3 separate regions of the Homo sapiens genome follow, and all the other regions are linked to region 2. The links are contacts of gene promoters, found by promoter capture Hi-C in human tissues and cell types (Jung and others, 2019). All regions are on one chromosome and are shown on one strand. The core of a region is centred on a gene start or on the middle of the fragment in contact, and the rest is flanking DNA. Distances in the headings are between cores, read along the strand shown.

The links. Contacts are between HindIII fragments. The study calls those that stand out against the background at their distance.
Region 1: a fragment that was not itself captured here is called in contact with the fragment with the promoter of FSTL5 in region 2 in 1 of the 25 tissues and cell types used here (hippocampus).
Region 3: a contact is called between a fragment that was not itself captured here and the fragment with the promoter of FSTL5 in region 2, in 3 of the 25 tissues and cell types used here (aorta, hippocampus and pancreas).

What each region holds. Positions count from the first base shown.
Region 1 is chr4:162,121,999-162,124,863 of GRCh38, reverse strand. The region is part of intron 1 of FSTL5 (follistatin like 5); the gene reads left to right. Among named protein-coding and RNA genes, the nearest start is that of FSTL5, 41 kb to the left of the region's middle. The HindIII fragment of the contact is 3,838 bases long and covers 1-2,865 here.
Region 2 is chr4:162,162,749-162,165,658 of GRCh38, reverse strand. It overlaps FSTL5 (follistatin like 5), which reads left to right and starts at 1,659. Exons shown (of 16, transcript NM_020116.5): 1 at 1,659-2,044. RefSeq lists an enhancer at 1,396-1,505. The HindIII fragment of the contact is 23,396 bases long and covers 1-2,910 here.
Region 3 is chr4:162,198,727-162,201,655 of GRCh38, reverse strand. No RefSeq gene overlaps it. Among named protein-coding and RNA genes, the nearest start is that of FSTL5, 36 kb to the right of the region's middle. The HindIII fragment of the contact is 4,012 bases long and covers 1-2,929 here.

The DNA of each region.
Region 1 (2,865 bases), core at 176-2,675, 41 kb after region 2:
GCTGGACGTGGTGGCGGGCGCCTGTAGTCCCAGCTACTCTGGAGGCTGAGGCAGGAGAATGGCGTGAACCCGGAGGGCCGAGGTTGCAGTGAGCTGAGATCGCACCACTGCACTCCAGCCTGGGCGACAGAGCGAGACTCTGTCTCAGAAAAAAAACAAACAAAAAAAGGAGTGACCTAAAAGAAGCTTTTGAGTATGTTTTGATAGAGTCTCCAGCCAGCGTTCAGTATTATTTTGGCTGCTCTCTGGCTGTTCAAGGGCTCATTTTTCAATAGATTATCTCATTAAAGAGACTTTTATCTATCTCATCCTCTGCCCAGAAGAAGCCATTATGCTTTCCGGTTCTAGTCCTTTAAGAACAGAGGAAGGGAGGTACACTTCACTATCAATCTGGGCCCAACCAGTTATACTGGGAATTTTATATTCATTACCTAGAGAAGAGGAGAGAATGGAGAAAGAAAGTTGCTAAAAATTACTGGTGGTCAGGCTTACTGTGTGGATTTTACAGAATTACAAGGGTTCTGAAGCAGGCCATAAATGGGTTGGATGATACTACTAAATTTTTTACACCTACCCTCAGTCTAGAAACAGCATCTTGATGGAGTTGCATATAAATTCTAATTCTGTGTTTCTTAAATTCAATGTAATAGCTATCTCTAAATTTAATTAGAGGCGTCATTTCAAAAGTTCACTTGTGTAAGCTTCTCAGATATCATACTAGTACCAATGTATTGTCTTTATTATCTGTTAAAAGCATTTACTTCAAAAGACATAAGACATATAATTTTAAGTGTTGTTATGGATATATTTTCTGAACTCATCTGAATACTCTACCTAGATTAGTGTATTTTTTGTTGACAGATTATCAAGAATTTGAAAGCTCATGGTGTAACTGTGCCTGGAACACATTATATATCCAATAAGCACTTTTTACTGTTATATTATAAAACACTATGTTGCTGCTTTCTTTTCACCTTTCTTCAGTTTTTTTTTTTCTTTCAAAATCTGATACAATTTAGTTAAAAAAAAATCTTTTACCTGTTGCCTCTTTTTCAAACTTGAGACACTGGTCCAAAATAAAATGTAAGTTATATGTCTCTTGCTGAAAACAAACTCAATTTCTGCAGTATTATTTGCTCATGACTTGGGTTCTGACCACTGGCTATGATTGACCACATAACCAGATGAAATAGTTCCAGTAGCTTTAGAGTTTTCTTGCAGGGTTTCAGCTCTTCTTGTCTGTTTTGGTTAAACCACTAGGAATGTCCTCAAGTCTTCAGTTGAGTGAGCAAACGTTCATCTACAAGGATAGTTTACTCTCCACTTTCCATATTTTCTAAGAAAACATGGAGACTTTGATTCTGAGAAACTTTGTGAGAATCTTTATAGTGCAACTAAGCATTAACCTATCTTCCCTCTTTCCCCTGCACACCAGGATGGCCACATCTCTCTTTCTGGGATCTCTCTGGAAAATATCTTGGGTCTTAATTACTTCTACTAACTGTGGACTATTCTCAGACTCTCCACAGTATTCTGAGAATGAACTAGAATTCCTCTGAAACTTAGCTGACCCCTATGAATGGGCAAGTTTTCCCCGTGGCATTTCAGTTTTAAATACAGAGGAAATTAAGTTGTTCCCTGTGCAGCACTTCATTGTTAAACTGTAACAGATTTTTTTTTCTTGTACAATAAATGTAGGTCCAGATTTAAAGAACACAGGCTGCTGGAGACCTTGGTATGGAATAGGTTGAATTTAAAATCTGTCTGACATTGACAAAATTGCAATGATTTTTTTTAATAGCAAATAAAATCTGTAACATAGTACCTCTGGGATTTTAAGCAAAGTCAGTCCTAAGAGCTGTATTCTTCCTTAATTTACATTTTAAGTGCTCATCAAGGTAGAAGGCAATGAATTCAGAAGACAGAGCCTATAATAATTTTCCCTTCTCTTGAACCAGGGAAAGATCTTCAAGGTCATATAATGTATTATGATTTTCAAACTTTTAAAACATCACTTTTCCACATTACACTACGCAAACTTAGGTGTAGCTTACGTACAAAGTAAGGCAATAGGCCTTTTATGCCACACACATATGAAATGTGCAATAAAGTACATAAAGAGTGTTTAGGAGAAAAAGTTTTAATTTGCATGATAACATCCATTTGCTACCTACTTTGAGAAGTAATAGAATATGTTTTCTTAACTTTCAGCTTATATTACTATGACATACAGATGTTGTTCCTTAAATTTTTATTGAAGATAGTATTGAAAATAAATTTAAAAAAACAAAAATTCAACATTGTCAGTCTGATTATTTCTGTTTTCAGAAATTTAACATAACAAACTTGTAGTTTTAAGAGAGCAGGTGAGAAAAGGAAGGTGGAAAAAGAAACTACAAGACCATGACTAGGAAATGAAGTGAAATCATGAGAATATTGTTTGTGTTTGAAACTAAAGGGAGGAAAGATCAAGTACAGTAGTGACCTCCAAGCAAACAATTTAAGTGGATTAGTTAGTGGTAGAAGCGGGGAACAGTGGGTTGAGAATGTTAATGCAAGTGTTAAGAAAATCAGTTTATGAGCCCAGCCACAAGTAGAATGATGTCTTTTGACTTTTAACCTATTGTTCTTTCTACTATAGTATGTTGCTGCTATTAAAAGTACTTTTTCTGAATTGGTACAGTTTTGAGAAATAAAGTTAGCCCTTGAATGACACAGGGTATAGGGTGCCAACCCCGTGCACAGTATAAAATTCAAATATAACTTTTGACTCCCCCCAAACTTAACTATTAATAGCCTACTACTGACCAGAAGAAGCCTTGCCTATAACATAAACAGTCAATTAGCAGGTACTTTGTATGTTAT
Region 2 (2,910 bases), core at 410-2,909:
GGATTGTACGTTCAGAAAAGAAATGGGCAATTTCTGGAATAAAGCCATAGAGAAAGTTTTATGTGGGTGTGAATCAGAATAAAAAAATGTTCCTTCCCTCAAGCAAAAACACCATAGTTTTTTCCTCTGTTATTTCTTCTTTTTTAAGTAACTAGAAAGAAGCAGTTTGGGGGTATGGGTCCACAAAGTAAATAGACTTCCTCAAATAACTTCTTAATATTAGAGAAAATAAAATGCATTATTTTTCCTGATGGGGAAATAAGTAAGTGTATTCCTTTGATTAGAGTCCCTGAAAAATGCTTGTGAGTGGATCCAGTGCTAGATGATATCAGACTCCTGGCATATGATGACACATATCAGTGTGTATGCATTCTGATGGAAAGCAATGTGTGAAATGCTATGACATTATTTGAATAAACAACCTTTTTTATTAAACATGCTTTATCCAACTTAAGAAAATTTAAGCTTAGTTTTAGATACCCACTTCTCTGTCCAAGTAAGTCATGATAGCTGTAGGTGGGACATGTGCATGGAATGTGAATAATCACCCTTCTGGATGATTGATTGCTTCAGTTCACTGAAAGTGTTTGTTTACAAGTTTAAGCAGTCTGTGGAATTTGGCATGACAGGCCCCCTTTCTCTTGCCTTCAAGGAGGCTAGAGCTTCACTGGGACAAGAAATATCACAAATACTGAGAGAATTGCTAAAGGCTATGTAAAGCTTCCAGCATAGCCCATCTTTCATAGAAATATTGATATAGTAGACATAATAAATATTGCATAACCTTCATAATTTTGGCAGTGGAAGTTGAAGCTGATAACTTTCACTTTTTATTATTTAATTTTTTTCCCTCTGGAATCTCCAAGTCTATACAGTTTGAGGATTTGTTTAAATCATGAGAATGAATAAGGAAGGTTCTGTAGGTTTTATAGGAACGCATATGAAGTATAATATATACTATGGAGCACTCGTATTTTTTTTCCTTAAGATTCTGTTTAGAAATGATGGTTAGCGCTGCAAGCTTTCACGTTTTCTCTCAGTGCTCAGAATTTTTTTTTTTTTCTTCCAGGCAAGTTTCTGCAGCAGCGACTCCCTCCAGAGGCTCCGTGAACCGAGGGAAGGGAGTAGGAACACCAAATACGGATCCGTTCAAATAACCAAATGGCAGGGAGAGGCAGCAAAGTTTGGGCAGGAAGATGAAAAGGATTGGAGATGTTTTCAAGAATGGTTGAATAGATTCATTCTATTTCTCCGTCTCCTCCCCACCCGCCTCCCACTCGGTCCTCTCCGTGCTCCACTGCCCCCTCTCTCCGCCCCGTCTTCCTTCCAGAGCTGTGCCCGCAGCGATCTTAGAGTGCGCAGAAACGGCAGTCCCCGCGAAGGCAAAGGCTCCAGCACCGTCAAAGCGTTTAGTTTCTACTGGACTGGTTGAGAATACATCCTGAAGTCCAAAGATGCCCACGCTGACGTTAAGCCTGAATTTTGTTGCCCCGATTGCCGCAGCTGACTCTAGCAGAAGCCCAGTCAAGGGGGCGGCCCCTCACCTCTCGGCGAGTTGATATGCAAAATAGTTACGTCAGATGGTGGGGGCGGGGCACCCCCGGGTTGAGTGGCAGCAGCTCCTGCCTAGGGAGGAGGAGCGAGAATCAGCCTGGTTCAGTGACTGAGACAAACTGGAGGTGAAAGGAGCTGGTACTGTCCACTGTGCTGTCGGTGCTGAACCTGAGACGCGAGCGGACCAGTTGCTCCAGCACCTGAAGGCAACGCCCTCTTGCACCCTCTGTGCCCTGTGGGACCCGCTTCACCAACAGGACCCATATCAACTTGACAAAGGAGTGTGGTATCGGACGTGGGAGAGAGTCCTCTGTTTGCCACCTGGGCGCTCATTCAGGCGTGACTTTGGAGATTTCTATAGTTTTAGACCAAACTATTTTTTTTTCCCCAGCTAAGACGATCTTTTGAGAGTTTTTTTTTTTTATTGTGATTTATATTTCCACAGCGTTTAGGAATCTTTCTGGGGGACTTTTGTGACTGTTAAAATAAGGTAAGAAAAATAATATTGTTATAAATGATTACAAGTGGGGGAGAAATACAGACTGCCATACAAAAATTTAAAAACAAGTTATGCTTATTTTTATAATTTGAAACTGGACTTTTGGCAATGATTACAAAAATATTTTAATAATTACTATTATTATTATTATTATTATTATTATTATTACAAGACAATCTGTTAGTGATTATGCACTAAATTCTAGAGGGGAAGTTGAGAGCTTTGCTTTTTGTGAAGTTGATGTCATTATGTTATATCTTGCTTTATAAATATAAATATTTTAGAGCAATACTTTCAGCAGGGTTCAAAGGATAGGAACCATTCCAGGAAACCCCCCAAATATATTAGCAAATGATGTTAAATAAATCAACCAACAAGTTGTTTAGAACAAATATAATCAAATAATTATTTGAATGGACTAGTCTCTGGTTAATCATCAATATTATTCCTATATCTAAAGCATAGACTTCAAAGTGCAGAGCTCTCTTAACATTTTTTGGAAGGGAGGAGGTAGGTATAGAAACATTTACATCATGCTGGGTCCATTTAGATGTGTTGTTATGCAGTAGATCCAAATAAAACTTGTGAAACTCAGTCTCTGAGCATTCCACACCCCAAGGTCATGTGTATTTCCAAGTTGGGGGCTGTTTGTTCTGCTGTTGACTAGCAAATGTCATCCCCTTGCAACCCCCTCAGGTTAGAGGTGGATGTAAATGGGAAGTTCTGATTTAATAATACAGTATTCGCTTGTATTATAGTCGCTTGTGCTGTTGGTAATTGAATGGAACTGGGAAGTGTGGGCTGAGAAAATGTCTCACTATTTCAGCAATGTTTAACCTCTTGCATGCTTAACAGAG
Region 3 (2,929 bases), core at 325-2,824, 36 kb before region 2:
AGACTTTTAAGAATATAATTTGCCTAATTTGATATGATTGTCTTGTTAAAATGCAGATGCTATGCCATTTAATTCGGTCTCTGCAGCATTTCCAGGATGCATACATAATTTTGTTGACGTTTAGAGAAATAGGAAAATCACACATTCCAACAAGGGAAGTTTAAACAATTCAACATTAAAATACAAATACTCAAACAGCGCTAATACATTTTAGCTGAACAATGTACTTTGCATGGTGTTTGGAATATGGTTTGGAAACAAGTTTATTTCTCCATTTGGGAGATAAAGCAAAGCTCTATTTATAATCAAAAGTAAAAACAAAAATCAGTTTTCCGAAATCTATCAAGTATGTATTCAGTGTAGGTTAAACATTGGTTGACTTATTTACTGTGGAATGGAATATAATAGTTGGAAGGCACCTTTGACACGGTCTGGGTTACAGACTGTGGTGTTATGATATGTGTTGGTTTTCATCCAGGGTTCCTAGTTCATAACTCCCATCTCCCTTTACAGTATTTTGTTATAATGTTGGGTGTGTTAGGCCTCAGGAGCAGGCTTCAGGAAACAGAATCTCTCTCCTGCCATCCTTCCACCTGACCCAAGGCAGGACTTTAATCTTTCTCCACCTTTATGATTGTGAGTCTTAAGACCCTTCCCAGAGAGAGTCCCACCTTATACTCCAGGGGGTGGGGGTAAGGAATGCTAATGTCATGAAGCTTCCATAAAAACCCAAACGAGGCCGGGCGCAGTGGATCATGCCTGTAATCCTAGCACTTTGGAAGGCCAAGATGGGCAGCTCACCTGAGGTCAGGAGTTTGAGATCAGCCTGGCCAACATGGTAAAATCCCATCTCTACTAAAATTACAAAAATTAGCTAGGGGTGGTGGCACATGTCTGTAACCCTAGCTATTCGGGAGCCTGAGGCAGGAGAACCCCTTGAACCCAGGAGGCAGAAATTGCAGTGAATAAAAGAAAAACCCAAACAAACTGGGTTTGAAGAGCTTCCAGATTGCTCCTGGAGTGGGGAGAACCCAGGGAGGGCAAGGAAGCTCCCTACCCTTTCCACCATATTTTGCCCTACACATCTCTTCATCTGTATCTTCGCAGTATCCTTTACAATAAGCCAGTAAACATAAGTAAGTGTTTCCCTGGGCTCTGTGAGCCGCTCCAGCAAATTATTCGAACCCAAAGAGGGGGTTGTAGGAACCTCAACCTGAAGTCAGTTGGTCAGAAGTTCCAGAAGCCTTGATTTGAGACTGGTGTCGTAGGTGGGGTGGGAGTCAGTCTTGGGGACTGAGCCCCCAACCTGTGAGATCTGATGCTATCTCCAGGTCGATAGTGCCAGCATTGAATTGGAGGACAACCAGCTGGCATGCACTGCTTGATGGTGGGGAGAAACCCCCGTGGATTTAGTCATAGAAGTCTTCTGTGTAGGTGATTGTTGTGGTGTTGGTGTGAGAATACAGGAAAACCCGTGTTAGATGGTTATTCTCCAGCCACAAACCTTATATAACTTTCTTAAGATCACACAAATAGGAAGTGGTAAAAGAAGGATTTAAAAAAGATCTTAAAATGGCATAAAACTGTACTCTTGTCACTGGATAATATTGCCTCTCTGGCAATTTGACCAAATCACAGCTAAATTTACACTTAGAGGATAAATCTACATTTCATATTTGTTCTCATTGTGTTCTGATAGGCTTGAAATGTCAAGCACAATTTCATTTAACTTGAATTTAATTTCAAACTTAGAACATAAAAAATTATATAAGCTTCAGAATAACAAAGCCTCTTTTAACAGTCTTCTATTCAAAGGGGAAGCAAACTAAATGGTTACACTTTTTCAGTGAATTAATATATAGCATCCAATGTATGGCCATTCAAAATCAGTTCCCAGGCCTGGCACGGTTACAGGCTCATGCCTGTAATCCCATCAGTTTGGGAGGCCAAGCCAGGCAGATCACCTGAGGTCAGGAGTTCAAGACCAGCCTGGCCAATATGGTGAGACCCCGTCTCTATGAAATATACAAAAACTAGCCAGGCATGTTGGTGCATGCCTGTAGTCCCAGCTACTCTGGAGACTGAGGCAGGAGAATCACTTGAACCTGGGAGGCAGTAATACTGCCCAGATCACGCCATTGCACTCCAAACTGGGTGACAGAGCAAGACTCTGTCTCAAAAAACAAAAACAAAGACAAAAACAAATCATTTCCCAAACTACCTTTTTCATTTTATCCAGGGCCAATAACGCTCATATATTTCACAGTGAATTCATTTGGAATACTTGAACACATCATACACTTCAAGGTTGGAAAATACTTTCACCTATTTCAGTCCTTTTTATATTTCAACTATTTTTTCATTGATCTGTTAGGTCAATTTTCTAAATTTATTCTTTTTCATGTATTTCCATGATATTTATTAACAACCTATCAAAAAACTATATCCCAAATTATACATTTATGCCAAGATACAAACAAAGAACACATGAAAAGTAAAAACTTTAAGTAGCCGTAAGCATAAATAATGTTCAGTCTTATTAGTAAACAAAGGAATGAAAATTGTAGCACAAAAACACCAGTTTTTACCTACACAAGTGGAAGAAAATTTTAAGTCGTTATGTTGATAAGAATGCAGAGAAACCAGTGATGATACTCTTAAATAATACTGGTCAGAGTGTACACCGTCATCTCTTTTTTGGAAAGCAAATAAGTAATATGTGTCAAAAGCTTTAAAATATTTTGCCATCATTCATAATTATTTTTGGAAAAATAAATAATGAGAAACCAATCATGATATATTGAAAGGTTCCAAAAAGGTTTAAAAATATCCAGAAACAAAAACAAAAACAAAACAAAACCCAGAGAAACATTATTATCCATCATGTTTTTAGATGGTTAAGTAGTTAGAAGACAAGCACTGGCTTAGG